2 separate regions of the Homo sapiens genome follow, and region 1 is linked to region 2. The links are contacts of gene promoters, found by promoter capture Hi-C in human tissues and cell types (Jung and others, 2019). All regions are on one chromosome and are shown on one strand. The core of a region is centred on a gene start or on the middle of the fragment in contact, and the rest is flanking DNA. Distances in the headings are between cores, read along the strand shown. Region 1 overlaps PEX1 (peroxisomal biogenesis factor 1). Region 2 holds the start of SAMD9L (sterile alpha motif domain containing 9 like).

What was found. The method cuts DNA at HindIII sites, captures the fragments that hold promoters and counts their contacts. A contact is called where the count stands out against the background at its distance.
Region 1: a fragment that was not itself captured here is called in contact with the fragment with the promoter of SAMD9L in region 2 in 1 of the 25 tissues and cell types used here (lymphoblastoid cells).

What each region holds. Positions count from the first base shown.
Region 1 is chr7:92,512,865-92,517,251 of GRCh38, reverse strand. PEX1 (peroxisomal biogenesis factor 1) reads left to right here. Exons shown (of 24, transcript NM_000466.3): 6 at 3,285-3,404. Among named protein-coding and RNA genes, the nearest start is that of PEX1, 13 kb to the left of the region's middle. The HindIII fragment of the contact is 6,462 bases long and covers 1-4,387 here.
Region 2 is chr7:93,146,337-93,150,744 of GRCh38, reverse strand. It overlaps SAMD9L (sterile alpha motif domain containing 9 like), which reads left to right and starts at 2,360. Exons shown (of 5, transcript NM_152703.5): 1 at 2,360-2,551; 2 at 3,599-3,862. RefSeq lists an enhancer at 3,061-3,160. The HindIII fragment of the contact is 15,444 bases long and covers 1-4,408 here.

The DNA.
Region 1 (4,387 bases), core at 1,238-3,737, 630 kb after region 2:
GAGAAATTTTATGTGGCTTAAACATCCCCAAATTATGAATTAGAATAGTATTTCATATATAAATTGAAAATCAATTAAAAAGAAACACAGTGCCTAAAGGCACTTGGGGGACACATTTACGCTTTGCAGTAAAGTCCTTGTTTGGATAAAGATTGTATGTTTTCTGGCCAAGTAAGCTTGAATAGGTACAAGCTTAGATAGGTTCAGGCCAGAGAGGTCAAAATTACTTGCCTGAGATTGCATAGCTAGTGTTACAACTAGGATTCAAACCCAGGCAGATTGACTTGGGGGTTCATCAGGATGGAGTGCCCTACAAAGCCTCCCATCTTTAATGCTTGCAGATTTGTTCCCCAGTTACCGAAAGCAACTTGTTAATATTAGGGAAAAGGGCCAGTGTAGGGAGAGATCCATGGCATGAGGTAACCTTCCTGCTGCATGTGGTGGCACCTGGATTGGAATGCATCCAGGAGCTGCTTACCCTGCCGGTGTCTGCTCTTTAATTTGTGTATAACGGAGAGGAAGTAGACAGGGCAACTAGTGCTCCAGCCCCTCATCCTGGCCACAAATATTAATGCTACCTTTATATGACATAAGTCACTAGTCCATTTATTGGAACCTAAATTTGAACCACTGTAAAGTAAGACTTCATAGTGATAAAGAGAGGAACTTGTTAGGAAAGAGAATAAAATAGAAAGAGAAGGTTGTCTCCTTTTGTAGATTTTTTTTTTTTCTCCAACAGTTTTACCTGTGACCTTTATACAAATAACTGACAAAGCATTAATCTCTTTGGCCTACATCATTTTCTTTTCTATTTTTTTTTTCCACAAGATGGAGTTTCACTCTTCTTGCCCAAGCTGGAGTGCAGTGGCATGATCTGGCTCACTGCAACCTCCGCCTCCCACGTTCAAGTGGTTCTCCTGCCTCAGCCTCCTGAGTAGCTGGGACTACAGGCATGCACCACCACGCCTGGCTAATTTTTTGTATTTTTAGTAGAAACTGGGTTTCACCATGTTAGCCAGCCTGGTCTGGAACTCCTGACCTCAGGTGATCTGCCTGCCTCGGCCTCCCAAAGTGCTGGGATTACAGGCATGAGCCACTGCTCCTGGCCGGCCTACATCATTTTCTAAAGCTCCAGACCATTCTTTTCTTTTCTTTTCTTTTCTTTTCTTTTCTTTTCTTTTCTTTTCTTTTCTTTTTTCTCTTCTCTTCTCTTCTCTTCTCTTCTCTTCTCTTCTCTTCTCTTTTCTTTTCTTTTTTTGAGTTAGAAGCTTGCTTTGTTGCCCAGGCTGGAGTGCAGTGGCACCACCTCCACTCACTACAACCTCCACCTCCCAGGTTCAAATGATTCTCCTGCCTCAGCCTTCAGAGTAGCTGGGACTACAAGTGTGCGCCACCACTCCTGGCTAATTTTTGTATTTTTAGTAGGGACGAGGTTTCACCATGTTGGCCAGGCTAGTCTTGAACTCCTGGTCTCAAGTGATCCGCCTGCCTCAGTCTCCCAAGGTGCTGGGATTACAGGCGTGAGCCACTGTGCCTGGCCTCAGATCATTATTTTCTGTTAGCTTTAAACTGTCCGTTCAGGAGATCCCACTGCATCCTCAAATTCAAAATATCTAACACTGAGCTTATGATTTAGCTGGTTCTGTCATTAGATGGGAATATCCTTTTATTTCCTTGAAATTATATGGTGAGAACAGGGAGAAGTGCTGATGGTAAAGTCCTGTGATTAAGATAGCAATAAGGACTCCGCCCTTCCCACTCCACTGAAGGTTGAAGAGCCATGGACAATGAGAAGTCACAGTAGGTGAAATCAGGTACTAAAATGGACTTGGCTTGAGAGATCAAAATTGATCACTTGGTGATACAACTAACAAATTCATGTTAACTTGAACCTTTATTACCCTGTGAAGCATGGTGATTAAAAAAAAACAACAAACAAACAGGAAACTTGATTGTTAAATTCTCTTTAAGTCAGAATATGTACCTTAGAGTTTTTATTTATGCTTTTGTCTACCATTAATATGTCTGCACCTGCTCTTTAGAAGTTAATAGAGAGTAAAGTCGTCTTTATGTCTTTCAGTGCTTACTTATATTTGGGAAGTTGAGAAAAATTTTTAACATCATTATTGATATATATATATATATATATATATATATATATATATATATATATATATATATATAGATAATTTTTTTTTTTTTCTTGAGACGGAGTCTCACTCTGTCGCCCAGGCCGGAGTGTGGTGGCGATCTCCACTCAATGCAAGCTCTGCCTCCCAGGTTCAAGCGATTCTCTTGCCTCAGCCTCCCGAGTAGCTAGGATACAGGCTCCCACCACCACGCCTGGCTAATTTTTGTAGTTTTAGTAGAGACGAGGTTTCACCATATTGGCCACGCTGGTCTCAAACTCCTGACCTTGTGATCCGCCCACCTCGGCCTCCCAAAGTGCTGGGATTACAGGCGTGAGCCACTGCGCCCGGCTGAGGTAAAATTTAAAGTGTACAATTCAGTCATTTTTAGTATATTTATACTAGTTGTACAGCCATCACCACAATCTAAGTTTAGAACATTTTCATTAGGGGGTGGGAGAAATTTTACTCTGCTTTTTAGATTAAGTTTCTGTCTGGATCTAATCATTTAATCAGACAATCAGGCAGATTGTCTGTGATTAGTTTTGGCCATTCCAGCTTCTTCATTGGTTGTTAACTTTCACAAATAAAGGCTGCTCAAAGATTAGAAATAACATTTAATTTGAATGTAAATGTGCCATAGTTTAAAAGATGGGTTTGGTGAATACAGTCAAATACATACATTTAAAGCTCTAATTCTGAAGATTATGTAAAGAAAAGGAAAGAAATGTAGGGAGAGGATTGAAATGTTCATGGTATAACAATATCTGAACATCCATCTGGTCACACCGTTGGTATTTGAATGTTTTGTCCTCCTCAAATTCATATGTCGAAATCCCAACTCCCAAGGTGATCGTATTAGGAGGTGTGGTCTTTGGGAAGTGATTAGGTCATGAAGGTGAAGCCTTCATGAATGGGATTCGTGCTCTTATAAAAGAGAACTGTGAGAAATAAGTTTCTGTCGTTTGTTAGCCACCCAGTTTAGGATATTTTGATATAGCAGCCTGCATGGACTGAGACAACTATGAGTTATTATGATAGCTTCTGTTATTTCACCTAAATTCATAGAAGCTAATATATCAATATTTATGCTATGAAATATTTCTTAACCAAGCTTTGAATATATTTATATTTTTGTTTATTTTTAAATTTCAGATTCCAGATGACCTGAGGAAGAGACTAAATATAGAAATGCATGCCGTAGTCAGGATAACTCCAGTGGAAGTTACCCCTAAAATTCCAAGATCTCTAAAGTTACAACCTAGAGAGAATTTAGTGAGTTCAAATATATATGTTACATCAAAATTCTTTTACACGTTTTGTAAGATTTCTAGTTGCTTTAGCTAAGTAATAAGAATGTTGTATTCCTTTTTGATACAAATCTTTTTTTATTGTGTTAAACTATATATAACATAAAATATGCCATGTTCGCCATTTTTAAGTGTATAATTCAAAGGCATTAATTACATTCATAATATTGTACAACCATCACCACTATCTATATCCAGAACTTTTCCATCACCCCAAAGAGAAACTTGGTACCCATTAAACAATAATTCCCCGTCCACTCCTTTCCCCAGTCCCTGGTAATCTCTAATGTATATTGTGTCTCTATGAATTTACTTATTCTAGATATTTCATATATAAGTAGAAGTATGCATTTGTCTTATGTATCTGACTTATTTCATTTAACATAATGTTTTCAAGGCTCATCTGTGTTGTATGTATCAGAATGTTATTCCTTTTCATGGCTGAATACTATTCCATTGACTGCATATACCACATTTGTTTATCCATTCATCTGTTGATGGACACTTGGGTTGTTTCCACATTTTTGGCTGCTGTGAATAATGCTACAGTGAACATTGGTGTACAAGTATCTGTTTGAGTTCCTCTTTTCAGCTCCTTTGGGATATACCTAGGAATTATGTTTAACTTTTTGAGAAGCTGAGAAATCTTTAATAAATGATAACACAAATACTTATATTTGCCAATGCAAATATGAATATTTTTGGCTTTTAAGAGATTGATCATTTTGCCACGTGGTTGTAATTAAAAAAAATTGTCCCATGTTGTTTCAGTATTAATATTGTAGCCTAAAAGAGTGCTAGACTGTTTTACTTTTTACTCAGTTAATTCTTTGGATACTGGTAGAGTCAGGAAATGAGATATTGAACTTAAAGATCTTTGCAGGTGGGGTCCAGTGGCTCACACCTGTAATCCTAGCACTTTGGGAAGCTGAGGTGGGAGGATTGCTT
Region 2 (4,408 bases), core at 1,111-3,610:
CAGACAAAAAAAAAAAAAGGGAACATGTACTCTCACAGTGCCTTCTTCCCCATTTGCCACCTCTCTAAGTGGACAAAGGTTTCCCTTTGGAGGTTGATAGGAGGCTCCACTAGGGGTAGTACTCACCAGGCTAAGTTCCTCAGGGAGTGGTGGGTATAGAGTGGGGCTAGATGGGTAAGGAGGATGGGACAAAGGGTTCTCCAAGGGGATAGAGGGAGAAAGGACAGACACATCTGAACCTTCAGAGCTGACAGAAGGAGGTTCTGCTCCACCCAAAACTGCCTGCTGAACCAAGGTTGCTTGCATTAAAGGATCATCTAGTATGTCTAGCTTTTTTTCCTCTTTTCCTCTCATCAAACATGATTCACATTATCCAAATAACATAAGTGAGCTGAGTCATGAATCTTAGATAAACCACAACATGGACTTTGACAAAAATGTTGAATAAGGCAAGGGAAATGAAGAGGATTTAGATGGGAATGACCAGAGCAAGCAGGTTCTGGGCAATAGAGACAGTGTGGATTGAACAAGCAAAGCCGGTTTGCCTGAATGCAAGAAAGGAAAGAAGTGTTTTTAGTGTGCAAAGTGAAACAAAACATCAGAGTCCCCTGATTTCCATCCTAGTGCTTCTCGATCACACCTAGTCGGCATAGCAGCAACAAAACATAATCTAATTTTATTGCTCATAGCTGTTGAATACCAAATCTCAATCAGCAATTTTAAAGACGGAGCCGTCAATGCTTTTTGTTCCCAATGTTTCAAGAGCAGACACATGGAAATCAGGAGGCACATAGGAAAAGAGTAAGTTAAAATCCCTAAGACCATTTAGATAAAGTCTCCCGAAAATGACAGTGAAACACAGACAGCAACCAAGAAATTGATTTATGCAGCAAGGAGGACAAGGCAGATTAATACAAAGTGCATAGCCTGCAGTGCCAAACCCTTTTTTAGCAGAGAGGGACTTTACTGAGAGGGCCCTCTAACCCCCTAAATCTTAGAAGGAACTCTAAACCTTTTAAGTTGGTCCTCTAATCCGAGGTCAGTCAAGCATCTTTGCCTTTTATTAACAGGGGTCTCTAATTCACCCTGTCTTCGGAGAGACTCTAATTCCCCTAAGTTGGGCCTCTAACCCAATCCCATTCTTTACCCGGGTACCCCACCACTTACCCAAAGTCATCCAATCAGTGCTATAGTCCATTTCCTTTGGGTTGGTGGGGAGGTTCTTCAGTATCGGTCCCTCATGGTTGCCAGAAATGTTACAGGACCAGGGTTCCAATCCAGACCCCTAGAGAGGGTTCTTGGAGCTCATGCAAGAAAGAATTCAGGGCGAGTCCACAGTGCAAAGTAAAAGCAAGTTTATTAAGAAAGTACAGTGGTAAAAGGACAGCTACTCCACAGACAGAGTAGGACGTTCCCGAAAGTAAGAGGAGGAACACATCCACCCTAGGTACAATGCTTGTATATATGGAGAGATGTGTTTTGCTACAAGGGTTTCTGATAAAGAATTAATTTTCTTAATTAGTGTATTTTGCAAGAATCAATATTATTTTCTTTAAAGCAAAATTAAGAATGCCTCTGTTCTCCAGATATTGGGATATCTGGACACTCCCAAGTCACGGTCTGCTTAGTAAATATTATTAATTTGCTCCCTTAATCATAAACATCTAGAGGCTAGGAATGCCTACCTTTCTGAGAAGGCAGCCCAGCAAGTCTCAGCCTCATTTTCGTAGCCCTCATTCAAAATGGAGTCACTCTGGTTCGAATGTCTCTGACATTATCAGGGTTGGTTTCTTCTGATGTCTCTCTCCTTGGCTTGTAGATGGCCATCTTTTCTTTGTGTCTTCACATGGTCTTCCCTCTGTATGTGTCTGTGTCCCAATCTCGTCTTCTTACAAGGACACAGTCAGATTCAATTACAGACACTCTAATGACCTCATTTTAACTTAATTATCTCCTGAAAGACCTTATCTCCAAATACAGTTACATTTGGAGGGAGTGAGGATTAGGACTTTAACATATGAATGTTTGGGGGACACAATTCAACCAGTAACAGGAACTTAGATTGCACTGACATATTAATTTTCTCCCTGGTATTTCCATTCTCTTTGTCCTGTAGGTAGTTTTTTGGGTCACTGGGTTTTTTTGTTTGTTTGTTTGTTGTTTCCTTATTCCTTAACTCTTATAACTTAAAAATCTGCCTGGTAAACAGTTTCTAAGCAGTGATTCAAATTTATTGATATTTTTGGTAATGTTATTGATTAAAAAACATTTCAGATCCTTCTAAACTCAAGAAAAAAGAATGTTCTAAAGCAAAACTGAAACTGTCTATACTTCAACTTCCTCCTGCTTCTCAACTGGCACTCTGACACACCCTCAGAAAGTCAGAGTACTGGGAGAACAGAAGACTTCACAATTTAATGCCTCAGTTTTTAAAAAAGGATCCTTACACTTCATGTCTCCTAGCCATCAGAAGAGGAATGAGACAGCAAAAGTTCAAATGGCCTGTTTCAAGTTTCTGATATAAAACGATGACATTTTCAGGAAAATCCTGGTAAGTAAACTGAATCATTAAACCTTTATTTGTTATGCTTTTGAGGCGACAGCTATTTTTTAAAACTTCAGCTGTACTTTTTATATAAATATATGTTTGTACATAAACGATTACTTATAAAAATACTAGAGTAATTAGAAAAATCAATGGATTAAATACATGTCAGTATATTTAACTGATAATAACTTTGTAAGTGCTCTTCTAAAAAGAAACATACCATTAAGTGTAATTAGGATAGTGGGAGGGTTTCTGATTGTGGCAGGCAGGCTTTGGAAAAGAGGATAGAGAAACGATGCAAACAGGGTCAGGAATTTAAGCACTGAAGATTCTAAAGGAACGTGTGATCTTGTGTAATTACACAAAATTCTGTCTTCATAACGTAAGATGTTATTAAAACTTTTACATTTTATCAAAGTTAATACTCTGCAGAGGCTAAATATTATTCTATTAAAGTATTTCATTCACATACATCTTATCCAGCAATCTGGTTGAAAACTAAGAAAAAAAATGCAAAGTGTTCTTCAGGAAAACGAAACTAACTTGCTTGTGTGGCTTCTGTCTGCCAGACTATGCAAGGAGGGTGTGGGTAGCTCTCCTGGGCTACAGCCAGATTCTGAAGTGTGTTTCCCCTACATCAGTTCTAAGAATCCTGCAGAGCAGAACACCTCCCTAGGGCATGGATATCAGCGGTGTTGCTGAGGGTCTCTCAAAGATGGGGTGGGCTTGTCCCTGAGAGTTTGCTGACTTGGAAATTCTTGCTGAGCATCAAAGAGAGAAAACTGAAGTGTTGAGGATGCCAACCTGCAACTCCTTTGTCAATAACCAACGTTGCTAAAGATAATATTTGTCTTCACAATTGTTTCAAAACAGGACACTGAGGGCCCCTAGAAAGCCAAGACTTAAGTCAAGGCAATCACAAAATTTGTCCACACTAATCATGGTCATTTTGATTGTTACTTAGTTCCAACAGCATACATCCAGATGCTCTTAAAATTGTACTGGCTAAAACGAAAGAAAAAATCTGGAGTCTGTTTTTTCCATCTTTAGCATTTCCAGAGAGAGACTGGCTGGTTAAATTTCTGAAAGAGGACACCAGCTAAAAGAAGGTATTGCATCTCACCCGAGCAGACTGTGTCTGTGGAAAGTGTAAGCCCCTTGCCAGAAGAGCAGCTTCCCAGCAAAGGCAGAGGGTGAAAACAGCAAAGGTCTTAAGACACTGGGGACCTAGAGTCAAAAGGGACCTCCTCCAGGGAAAACGCTGTGTGAGAAATGGCCTCATTCGGTGACTGTGAGTGACACAGCAGAAAGTTGGTAAGGTGTAGTCTGTAACTAGGGTATCTACAAAAACTGCAGGAGAAAATATATTCATTTGTTTTGCTTTCCTTTTGAAAAAAAAACTTCCTTTTCATTATTTGTGACCAGATGATAGAAGCTGGAGTTCATTCTGGCCTAACGGGTAGCACAGTAAAGAGATTTCCCCAGATTTCTACCTGGAGTTCCAGCCAAGCGAAATAATTTCCCTAGGAAAATGAGGAAGTCCTTTGACCCACAGACACTGGTAGCTCAAGGCCTTTCAAATATTCATTACTTTTAACTACTCTAAGAAAATGTGTTACTCATTTAACAGATTTTTGTTAAGAAGCTATTATGTGCTAGGCAATGCCAGATAATGAACAAAATGTAAAGAAATTTGTCCTTATGGAGTGCATAGAATAATGGGTTGGACAGAAAATAAATAGGTTAAAATATATAAAATATTTGCTGCTTGTAAGTCCTAAGTAGATAAAAAATGAAGCCAGAAGAGGGATAGGAAATGTTGGGAGGTGGGATAAAGTTTTCAGTAGGCTGGCCAAACAG